2 separate regions of the Homo sapiens genome follow, and region 2 is linked to region 1. The links are contacts of gene promoters, found by promoter capture Hi-C in blood cells and fetal thymus (Javierre and others, 2016). All regions are on one chromosome and are shown on one strand. The core of a region is centred on a gene start or on the middle of the fragment in contact, and the rest is flanking DNA. Distances in the headings are between cores, read along the strand shown. Region 1 holds the start of JTB (jumping translocation breakpoint). Region 2 overlaps ATP8B2 (ATPase phospholipid transporting 8B2).

What was found. The method cuts DNA at HindIII sites, captures the fragments that hold promoters and counts their contacts. A CHiCAGO score of 5 or more calls a contact.
Region 2: a fragment that was not itself captured here is called in contact with the fragment with the promoter of JTB in region 1 in 1 of 17 cell types (total CD8 T cells); the score reaches 5.3 in total CD8 T cells.

The regions. Positions count from the first base shown.
Region 1 is chr1:153,974,527-153,979,825 of GRCh38, reverse strand. JTB (jumping translocation breakpoint) reads left to right here and starts at 2,152. Exons shown (of 5, transcript NM_006694.4): 1 at 2,152-2,656; 2 at 2,813-2,850; 3 at 3,051-3,133; 4 at 3,921-4,000; 5 at 4,991-5,299. The coding sequence starts at 2,574. The coding sequence ends at 5,147. JTB-DT (JTB divergent transcript) reads right to left here and starts at 2,083. Exons shown (of 1, transcript NR_186180.1): 1 at 666-2,083. RefSeq lists silencers at 1,679-1,973, 2,262-2,311 and enhancers at 1,982-2,031, 2,033-2,681, 3,331-3,980. The HindIII fragment of the contact is 8,938 bases long and covers 1,925-5,299 here.
Region 2 is chr1:154,335,070-154,340,368 of GRCh38, reverse strand. It overlaps ATP8B2 (ATPase phospholipid transporting 8B2), which reads right to left. Exons shown (of 28, transcript NM_001370597.1): 12 at 2,825-3,021. It also overlaps the pseudogene RNU7-57P. Among named protein-coding and RNA genes, the nearest start is that of ATP8B2, 12 kb to the right of the region's middle. The HindIII fragment of the contact is 731 bases long and covers 2,409-3,139 here.

The sequences.
Region 1 (5,299 bases), core at 903-3,402:
ATATATTATACATATATATTAAATATATATTATAATTATATATTTAATATATAATATATTATGTTTAATATATAATTATATATAATTATATTATGTTTAATATATAATATATAATACATATTTTAATACATAATATATATATATCCCCCTTTCACCATACATAATATTTTTTACACAGCAAAATGTAATAACTTGATAAATGTAAGTATCCAAGCATTGATGAGGTAATGATAAACCTTATTTGTGGCTTATGCTTAAGTTCTTTTTTTTTTCTTTTGAGATGAATTCTTGCTCTTGTTGCCCAGGCTGGAGTACAATGGTGTGATCTCGGCTCACCGCAACCTCTACCTCCCGGGTTCAAGTGATTCTCCTGCCTCAGCCTCACGAGTACCTGGGATTACAGGCATATGGCACCATGCCCAGCTAATTCTGTATTTTTAGTGGAGACGGGGTTTCTCCATGTTGGTCAGGCTGGTCTTGAACTCCCGACCTCAGGTGATCCGCCCACCTCGGCCTCCCAAATTGCTGGGATTACAGGCGTGAGCCACTGCGCCCAGCTGTGTTTGAGTTCTGTAGTAAACTGTCCGGTAGGTTTAATTTGCTCAAGCGATGAGGAAAAGACTTGCACTTTGTGCCTCCTGGGAAAGAGACTAACGTCTTCAACATACCTTATGGCAGATATTTAATTTCAGAGTAGAGACCCCACTCTGATGCCTGGTAAGGTTATTGGAAGTGAAATATCACAAGATCTTACAGTTTGTTGTGAGATAAGGTAGGATTTGGTGAGGAGTAACAAATACTAGCAGATTTCGGCCCAAACTTCAATTATAGCTAAACATTACTGGAAAAAACCCCACAACCTACTTTATGTAACATATAACTACTCACACACATACACAAAAATAATACACACACAATTTCAGCAAACACAAATAATAATTTAAAGAAACAAATTCAAAATTAGAGCCAGGTATGGTGGCACATGCCTGAAATCCCAGCTACTTGGGAGGATCCCTGAAGACGAGAAGTTCCAGGCTGTAATGCGCTATGATGGCTCCTGTGACTTGCCACTGCACTCCAGTCTGGCAACATAGCCAGAGTCCATCTCGTTCAAAAACAAAAACAAACAAACAAAAAACGGCGAAATGAAGGCTCAGCCCTCATCAGGTTTAGGTGACAGAGCTAGACCCTGTCTAAGAAAAAAAATAAAATTAAATGAAAATTCGTTATCAGACAGTAAAGCATGAACCCACAGTGCTGGTCAAGTCACTGCAGATCTGAGTGTGTATCAAGGTTTAACTCCATAAGATGAAAAGCAGGCAATGAATCTTTGGCCTGGGTGTTGACAGTCTAGGCTCAAGCCTCAGCTTTCCCACTCATTAGCTTGCTGACCTTGGACAAGTCACTTATATTCTCTGAACTTACTCATGAAACGGAGATACATTTCATCTGCCTCTCGCAAGAAAAAGTCCTGGTAAATACACATTAGCATTTCCGTTTTACACAGAACACTGACAGATACTTTCCTAAGATCATGGAGTTAATAACCACCAGAACCTAGACTCAATACTTATGGAACTTCAAATCTCATGCTTTTCTCATTGCACTTATGATTACTCCATTATGTAGGAGCAAGGGAGAGTTGAGAGCATTTGAAGAGGTTATGCAAAGGACCAGCTCTGAGGAGTAGGCTTAGCAAAGTAACATGAGGGAAGGTAACACCGTTCATCTGTGTAGCGGAGTGGGAGCCAAGAGACAAGGAGAAAGTTTCATGTTCGTCATGTGTCTCGGATATTCCGGTTTCTGCAGGGACGAGAACGCGCAGTTTCGCCTCCATCCCTTGACCTCCAACACAGCTTCTCCACTGGATCATCGGTGGCGATGAAGGGGCGGCTGGGGAAGGATGTCAGAGAAACCAGAAGCTTGACGGTGAATCCTCGGGTTTTAAGGAGAGAGCAAAGTCCTGAGAGGGCGACGTATTGTCCCTGCTCACCTAGCCCAGAATGAACAAACACGCGCCAGCCAGGGAGCAGCGAGCCGAGAATTCGGACGAGCCTCTGCAACCGCCATTTGCCGTTCTCGCAAAGACTACCAAGACCACAATGCAACGGGGCGCCGAGCTAATTCCCAGTGAGCAGCAGGCGAGGCGCCACCGACGCGGAAGACTATAAGCCCCAGCGGGCGACGACCGAACGCCCCCGGGAACACCGGGCCCCGAGCTCGGTCCCGCGCCCGAGGATCCTCCACGGGGCTAGATGGCTGCGTCGGGGGCGGGAGCGGAGGTGAGCGGGCGCTAGGGCCGCGAGCCCCCGCCGGCCCTTCCTCCAGCGCCCTGCGGACCCCGCAGAAGGCGCTCGCCTCCCTAGCCCGCAAAAACATATCGATTTTTCTCGCTGTGGCAACGGGGACGTCCTGATAGATCCTCTGCTCCAATAGGCAACTCCGGCCTTCCCTGCCCTGACCTGGAACCTCTGGGAGGGCTGCAGAGTAAGTGCCGCCTCTGCGCTCCGACGGAGGCACGAGGCCTGTGGAGTAGGTCCCTCTGTTCCGACAGGTGCGACACTTGGCGCTCCATGCTTGCGGGTGCCGGGAGGCCTGGCCTCCCCCAGGGCCGCCACCTCTGCTGGTTGCTCTGTGCTTTCACCTTAAAGCTCTGGTAAGGAGGAGGTAAGGGGAGGGAAAAGGAGGTCACTGGAGGACAGGATCGTTCCCGGCCTCGGGGCTGGGGGAGATCTTATCCATGGACAGCGCAGGAGGGGGTGCCCTATTTTCTGGGTTTTGACTTTTGTCCCTTCCCCCAACTCCGCTACAGCCAAGCAGAGGCTCCCGTGCAGGAAGAGAAGCTGTCAGGTGGGTGATTGTCTGGGAACCCGACACGTCCCGTCGTTTGTTTTTGGTTTTAGTATCTTCCCCATATACCAAGAGCACAGGTGGAAAAGGCCGGCACCACATGGAATGAGGGCAAGCGCTGTGCCGGGAAGTTGGATGGGCAGAGCCTGGGAGAAATGTTTTCTGAATGGCCTGGGGCTGGCATTTATCTTTCCTTTCAGCAAGCACCTCAAATTTGCCATGCTGGCTGGTGGAAGAGTTTGTGGTAGCAGAAGAGTGCTCTCCATGCTCTAATTTCCGGGCTGTGAGTATCTATTTCTCTACCCTTTTTTTTTTTAAACATCTAAGCAAACACTTAAGCAACATCTTAACATCCAAGTCTTATTAAGCTGCCTTTGCATCATCTTTTTTTCTTTCTTCTTGCAGTCTCAGTGTATGTCCAAATCTGTACTTGTCTTTCCCCTGAAAATGTGCCCCTTTCTTTCCAAGCTAATGGCAGTATTCAACTGATAACTATGGTTTTTTTGTTTGTTTTTGAGACGGAGTCTCACTCTGTTGCCCAGGCTGGAGTGCAGTGGCGAGATCTCGGCTCACCACAACCTCCGCCTCCCGGGTTCAAGCGATTCTCCTGCCTCAGCCTCCTGAGTAGCTGTGACTAAAGGCGCGTTGCACCATGCCTGGCTAATTTTTGTATTTTTAGTAGACTCGGGTTTCACTGTGTTGGCCAGGCTAGTCTCTAACTCCTTACCTCGTGATCTGCCCGCCTCGGCCTCCCAAAGTGCTGGGATTATAGGCGTGAGCCGCCACACCCGGCCTCAAATAACTATGTTTTATTCACTTTTAGTATAGTAGGCTCTGGAATGGAATGTATCTTTGCCACTCCTAGACTGTTGCCCCTGAAGTGTTCTAACATACATTCGTAATCATGCAACCACCACCTCCACCATCCGCATCAGAACTCTTTCATTAGCTCTCTGTTGCCTACCACTCCAAACCATAGCAGTTGGGCACCTGCACCTTCTGAATGGCAGCCTTTTTGTTTATCCTGTTGCCCCTTCCTAACATGTACTTTGCTCCTTTTCTCCTGGCAGAAAACTACCCCTGAGTGTGGTCCCACAGGATATGTAGAGAAAATCACATGCAGCTCATCTAAGAGAAATGAGTTCAAAAGGTGAGTGCTGTTTCTCTTCTCTGAGATCACCTCCTTTGCTCCTATGACTTTAGATGGATGGTCCCACCTTTTCCCCTGGTCTGGGGGTAGCATGGAATATCTGAAAGAAGAGGGGGCCGGGCTCACACCTATAATCCCAGTACTTAGGGAGGCTGAGGCTAACAGATCACCTGAGGTCAGGAGTTCGAGATCAGCCTGGCCAACGTGGTGAAACCCCATCTCTACTAAAAATACAAAAATTAGCTGGTGTGGTGGGTGCCCATAATCCCAGCTACTTGGGAGGCTGAGGCAGGGAGAATCACTTGAACCCAGGAGGCAGAGGTTAGAGTGAGCCAAGATCATGCCACTGCACTCCAGCCTGGGCAATGGAGCGAGACTGTGTGTCAAAAAAAAAAAAAAAAAAAAGAGGCTGGGAGGGGTGGCTCACGCCTGTAATCCCAGCACTTTGGGAGGCCGAGGCGGGTGGATCACGAGGTTAGGAGTTCAAGACCAGCCTGGCCAAGATGGTGAAACCTCATCTCTCTTAAAGATACAAAAATTAGCTGGGCATGATGGCGGGCACCTGTAATCCCAGCTACTTGGGAGGCTGAAGCAGAAAACTGCTTAAACCCGGGAGGTGGAGGTTGCAGTGAGCCAAGGTCACGCCACTGCACTCCAGTCTGGGTGACAGAGCGAGACACCATCTCAAAAATAATAAGAAAGAAGACGGGATTTGGAGCCAAATTACTTGAACCCAAGTCCCAGCTCTACTCCTCAGCACTATGTTATTGGCCATATTTTCTCATCAGTAAAATTGGTTAATACTAGCTCTGCTTATCCAGAGAATAAATTAAATGATCTATTTGAGAGGGATTTATGTACTATACACACAATAGAAGCCTGGCTCTGATTTCCTCTTGAGTGTATCCTGGCTAGGCTGAAGTAGAAGGGAAATTAGAGGGAGAAGCTGTCTGGCCTTCCTTGGGAATAACTATTCCTTCCTGCCCTCAGCTGCCGCTCAGCTTTGATGGAACAACGCTTATTTTGGAAGTTCGAAGGGGCTGTCGTGTGTGTGGCCCTGATCTTCGCTTGTCTTGTCATCATTCGTCAGCGACAATTGGACAGAAAGGCTCTGGAAAAGGTCCGGAAGCAAATCGAGTCCATATAGCTACATTCCACCCTTGTATCCTGGGTCTTAGAGACCCTATCTCAGACAGTGAAAGTGAAATGGACTGATTTGCACTCTTGGTTCTTTGGAGCCTTGTGGTGGAATCCCCTTTTCCCCATCTTCTTCTTTCAGATCATTAATGAGCAGAATAA
Region 2 (5,299 bases), core at 1,525-4,024, 360 kb before region 1:
TCGTCACTGTCCCACCACAGGCTGGGTGCGCTCCTTCCACCCTGGGCTTGGGGCACTACATTCCTGATTCTGAACACCGGGCAGGGCTGAGGTGCTGACTCCAGAGGGAGAGGGCCCTGGGCATCTGCAGAACACCACCACTTCACAATGGCACAGCGCATTGTGGTGGTTGTTGTTTGCTTGTTTGTTTTTTGAGCTAGGGTCTCTGTCACCCAAGCTGGAGTGCAGTAGTGTAATCATAGCTCACTGTAGCCTCAAACTCCTGGGCTCAAGCAATCCTCCCACCTCAGCCTCCCTAGTAGCTGGGACTACAGGTGCACACCACCACACCTGGCTAATTTTCATTTTTTGTAGAGATGGGATCTCGCTGTGTTGCCCACACTGGTCTTGAATTCCTGAACTCAAGAGATCCTCCCGCCTCCACCGCCCAAAGTGCTGGGATTACAGGCGACAGCCACCATGCCTGGCCCCTATAGTGCCTTTAACATCTCCAGGTCTGTTCGTATCCTCTTCTTTGCTAATCATATGCACTGTTAGCATTTCCAGAAAGGGCCATGTTTAGGTCCAGTGCAGCCGAGCAATGGGGCCCTATCGAGAGCCCTGCTTCCCACCTGACTAAGGCACCTATCAGGATCCCATTACCAGGCAAATGGGAATGTCTTCACATTCCAAAGGGCCTTTTCCTCACACAGCTCTTCAACCCCCTCTTAGCCTCCCGAAACATACACACTGTGACCTGATGAGACTCAGAAAGAAAACTGCTTTAGCTGCTCCCAAGGGCTTCAAGTGAACTGAGATACAAAACACAGATAGCAAAGCCCATAGGTGGGAAAACAAAATTAGGTTGTAAGCACAAAGGCATTTAAATAGTAATGCAGAAGGGAGTGGCAACAGTCACAATGAGCAGGCTACCACCCAGTAACTGTACAGTCACTTAAGTTTAAAATGTATCTTCTAAGCCAATATCTTATATCAAGACATCCTATTAAAAGGTGAGACAAGTACTCCTGTTCCTGTTTCACGTGGGAAAACTAAGATCAAGTGAGGCCCTGAGTGACCGTGGATTTTCCTGAGGTCACATGGCCAGTGAGGAGGCAGGACTAAACCCAGAACCTCCCAACTCTCCTCTTCACACCCTGGAAAAGCCTAAACTATATTCTCTCAGCACAGAAATGCTGTATCTTCTATTTATTATCACCAGCAGTAAGATTGGGGGCTGGGAGAGAGTTGAGGGCTATTTGGGGAATCTGTATGAACAAAAGATGGGAGACAGGACAAGTTTTCAGCACCTCCATAAAACATTTCCTTAAAAATGTCACAGGTTCCCTTATCTCAAGTGCAAGGCACTAAGCAAGAAAGTTCCTTTCCCCTGGCCATTCCTCCTGCCTCGTCTTCCTCCGATCCTCCCCTTCATTCTCACTGGCCTGTCCCTGCTAACATTCTCTTTACCTCAAACATCCTACATGTTGCCTTGATCCTATTCATGCTGTACACTACTGCCAGTCAATACTTCCTAAAGCATTCTTTAGTTTTTTTTTAGAATGCATTTTTTTCTTTTTGTGGGGGAGGGGTTCCAGTGAAAACTGGAAAACCTGCTAGACAAATTCTAAAAGAGCTGTAACACTTAGAATGCATTTTTAGAATACAGAATACATTCTTTTGACTTTCTTCAAAAACTTTTTTGTTTGTTTGTTTGTTTCGTTGTTTTTTGAGACACAGTTTCGCTCGTTGCCCAGGCTAGAGTGCAGTGGCGTGATCTTGGCTCACTGCTACCTCCACCTTCCGGTTTCAAGCGATTCTCCTACCTTAGCCTCCCAAGTAGCTGGGATTACAGGCAACCACCACCACACCTGGCTAATTTTTGTATTTTTAGTAGAGACGGGGTTTCAACATGTTGGCCAGGCTGGTCTCGAATTCCTGACCTCGTTATCCGCCCACCTTGGCTTCCCAAAGTGCTGGGATTACAGGTGTGAGCCACCGTGCCCAGTCTTTTCAATAACTTTTAATGGTTAGTAAATACAAAGTCCACAGGCAAATATTCAAAAGCCTCCACAATCAGGAGCAAGCTATGTTTCCAGCTCTTGCTCTTGGCCCAAGACCCTGGCCAACTATTTCCATAGGCCATTCCCAGGCTCCCATCTCCACACCTTTGCTTCCAGCCCTCTCAGCCTCCTCTCCATTGTGGCTCCACCTTCATCCAGCCCAGTCACCACTCAAAGCCCAGAGCAAATGCCATCTCTCCCTCTCTGCCTACCTGCTTAGGGAGCGACACTCTCCCAGTCCCCGGGCACCCTGTGCCTCCCACATGGTATCTCAGTCTGACACTGTCCAGATCTCCCCTCCTCGACCTATCCATCTGCTGCTGCTAAAGGCAGAGGCCACCTTATACATCTCTGTATCCCCAAGCTTCACATAGAAGACTCTAGGTCGAATTCTACAGCACTGGTTCCTATTTTGTTTTATAATGTGTTTAGATTTTCCTTCCTTTACTAGACGTAAGCTCCTAGAAGGAAGGAGATCCATTCCTAATTCATCTTTTATTTGTGATGGCACCTAGCACACTTCTTTGTACACAGTAGGCATGTAATAAATAGGTGCTGAATAAATCAATATTTTTTTTTCTCTAATACAGTCCCAAGTACCAGGAAACTGTGGTAAAAAGTTTGCTCTGCCCACAAAGATAAACAGATAACATCAAATGTTTACAGTACAGGAAGAAGAGGACTTCTCGTTACTTCTCAAGGACTTCATCTTCATAGAAAAGAAAAGTTCTATGGGACCGCCTGACTCCCTGGAGAGACCCCAGGTCAGAGAAGGCACATACCTGACATAGAGTGAAATGGGCACAACGGTGTTGAGGATGATGATGTAGGACCAGAAGGAGAGGAAGCCAGAGAAGAAGGCACTGTCCACTGCCTCATCCCACGGCAGGTAGACCTGGAAACGCATCCCCACCTCGTGCTCCCAGATGGCATTGCCAATGGCCAGGATCACCCCCATGCAAACCAGGAATCCAAAAATCTGGGGAGGAATGAGAAGCACAGGCGAGGCTGACATGTAGGAAGCCCTCAAAACCAAGTGCATCTGTGATGTATTCATCCCTTGAGCCCTCAAAAGCTCAGATGCTCTAGTGCAAGCTTGTCCAACCCATGGTCTCTGGGCCACATGTGGCCCAACACAGATTCATAAACTTTCTTAAAACACTATGAGATTTTGGTAACAGCTGAATGTTAAATGAAAAATAATTATAAAAAAAAAAAAAACTATTATGGGCTGGGCGCAGTGGCTCAAGCCTGTAATCCCAGCATTTTGGGAGGTTGAGGCGGATGGATCACCTGAGGTCAGGAGTTTGAGACCAGCCTGGCCAACACGGTGAAACCCCGTCTCTACTAAAAACATTAAAAAAATTAGCCAGTCCTGGTGGCACTTGCCTGTAGTCTCAGCTACTCAGGAGTCCAAGGCATGAGAATTGCTTGAACCCGGGAGGCAGACATTGCAGTGAGCCAAGATCATGCCACTGCATCCCAGCCTGGGCAACAGAGCAAGAACCTGTCTCAAAAAAAAAAAAAAAAAAGGCCAGGTGCAGTGACTCACACCTATAATCCCAGCACTTTGGGAGGCCAAGGCGGGCAGATCATGAGGTCAGGAGTTCGAGACCAGTCTGGCCAACATGGTGAAACCCCATCTCTCATCTCTACTAAAAATACAAAAAAATTAGCCGGGTGTGGTGGCGGGCACCTGTAATCCCAGCTACTAGGGAGGCTGAGGCAGGAGAATCACGTGAACCCGAGAGGCAGAGGTTGCAGTGAGCCGAGATAATGCCATTGCACTACACTCCAGCCTAGTGACAGAGTGAGACTCCGTCTCAAAAAAAAAAAAAAAAAATTTATGAGATTTTTTTTTGCAATTTTTTTTTTCTAAGCTTATCAGCTATTGTTAATGTTAGTGTATTTTATGTGTGGCCCAAGACAATTCTTCTTCCAATGTGGCCCAGGGATGCCAAAATATTGGACACCACTGCTCTAGTGGAAAAAGCTCAGAACTGGTGACAGGTTCTAGTCTGTCACCAATTATCATGTGGCCTTCTGTCTGACCATTATTTCATCTATATGATGAAGAAACTGAAATAGTTGATTAGCTCTCAATCTGGCACCTTGAAACCTTCCAGAGTCCTCAAAGTTGGTAAGAGTGGGGATGAGCTACTTTTAACATACCAGAAAACTTACTGTAAATAATCTATTCACCTGGGCTAGGTACAAGCCAACAAAAATGCCAAGCCACGGTAATGTTCACTATCTCACATAGATGGCCTTTTTTTTTTTTTTTTGAGATGGAGCCTTGCTCTGTCGCCCAGGCTGGAGTGCAGTGGCGCGACCTCGGCTCACTGCTGCAAGCTCCACCTCCCGGGTTCACGCCATTTTCCTGCCTCAACCTCCCAAGTAGCTGGGACTACAGGTGCCCGCCACCACGCCCAGCTATTTTTTTGTATTTTTAGTAGAGATGGGGTTTCACCATGTTGGTCAGGATGGTCTTGATCTCTTGACCTCGTGATCCACCCACCTCGGTCTCCCAAAGTGCTGGGATTACAGGCGTGAGCCACTGCACCTGGCTAAGATTGCCTTTTTTTTTTTTAAACTTGGGAAACAAACTTATCTTCATAAACGTAGATTTCTTTTTTGAAACAGGGTCTTGCTTTGTTGCCCAGGCTGGAGTGCAGTGGCATGATCCTAGCTCAACGCAGCCTCAATCTCCCAGGCCAAGCAATCCCCCCGCCTCAGCCTCCAGAGTAACTGGGACCACAGGTGCATGCCACCAAACCTGGCTAATTTTTCAGTTTTTTGTAAAGACAGGGTCTCACTATGGTGTCCAGGCTGTTTTCGAACTCCTAGGCTCAAATGATCCTCCCACCTTGGTCTCCCAAAGTGCTGGGATTACAGGTGTGAGCCACCACTCCTGGTCTAGATTTCCTGATTAGTCAAAAATCTTATAAATTTTGGAGTCTCTGGAGAGACTGGTAAAAAACCAGGCCACTGTCCAATTTCCTACATCTATTTCCAAAGCTGCCTCCGCTGTTTAGGCTTTGAAACAAAATAGGAGATTGGTGCCCAATGGCCACCAGGGGGCGACTGGAGCCCTTATGTGATAGACAACCTCGCCCACCAGGCTGGGTTTCCGCACACTCTTTAAAGCCAGGGCGGAAACAAGCTCACCAGAGGCTAGCCCCAGCCTTCACAAGCTGGCATGTGGCGGGCAGGCAGCAGACAGTCGGGGCACAGGAAGGGGAGGAGAGCCCAACAAG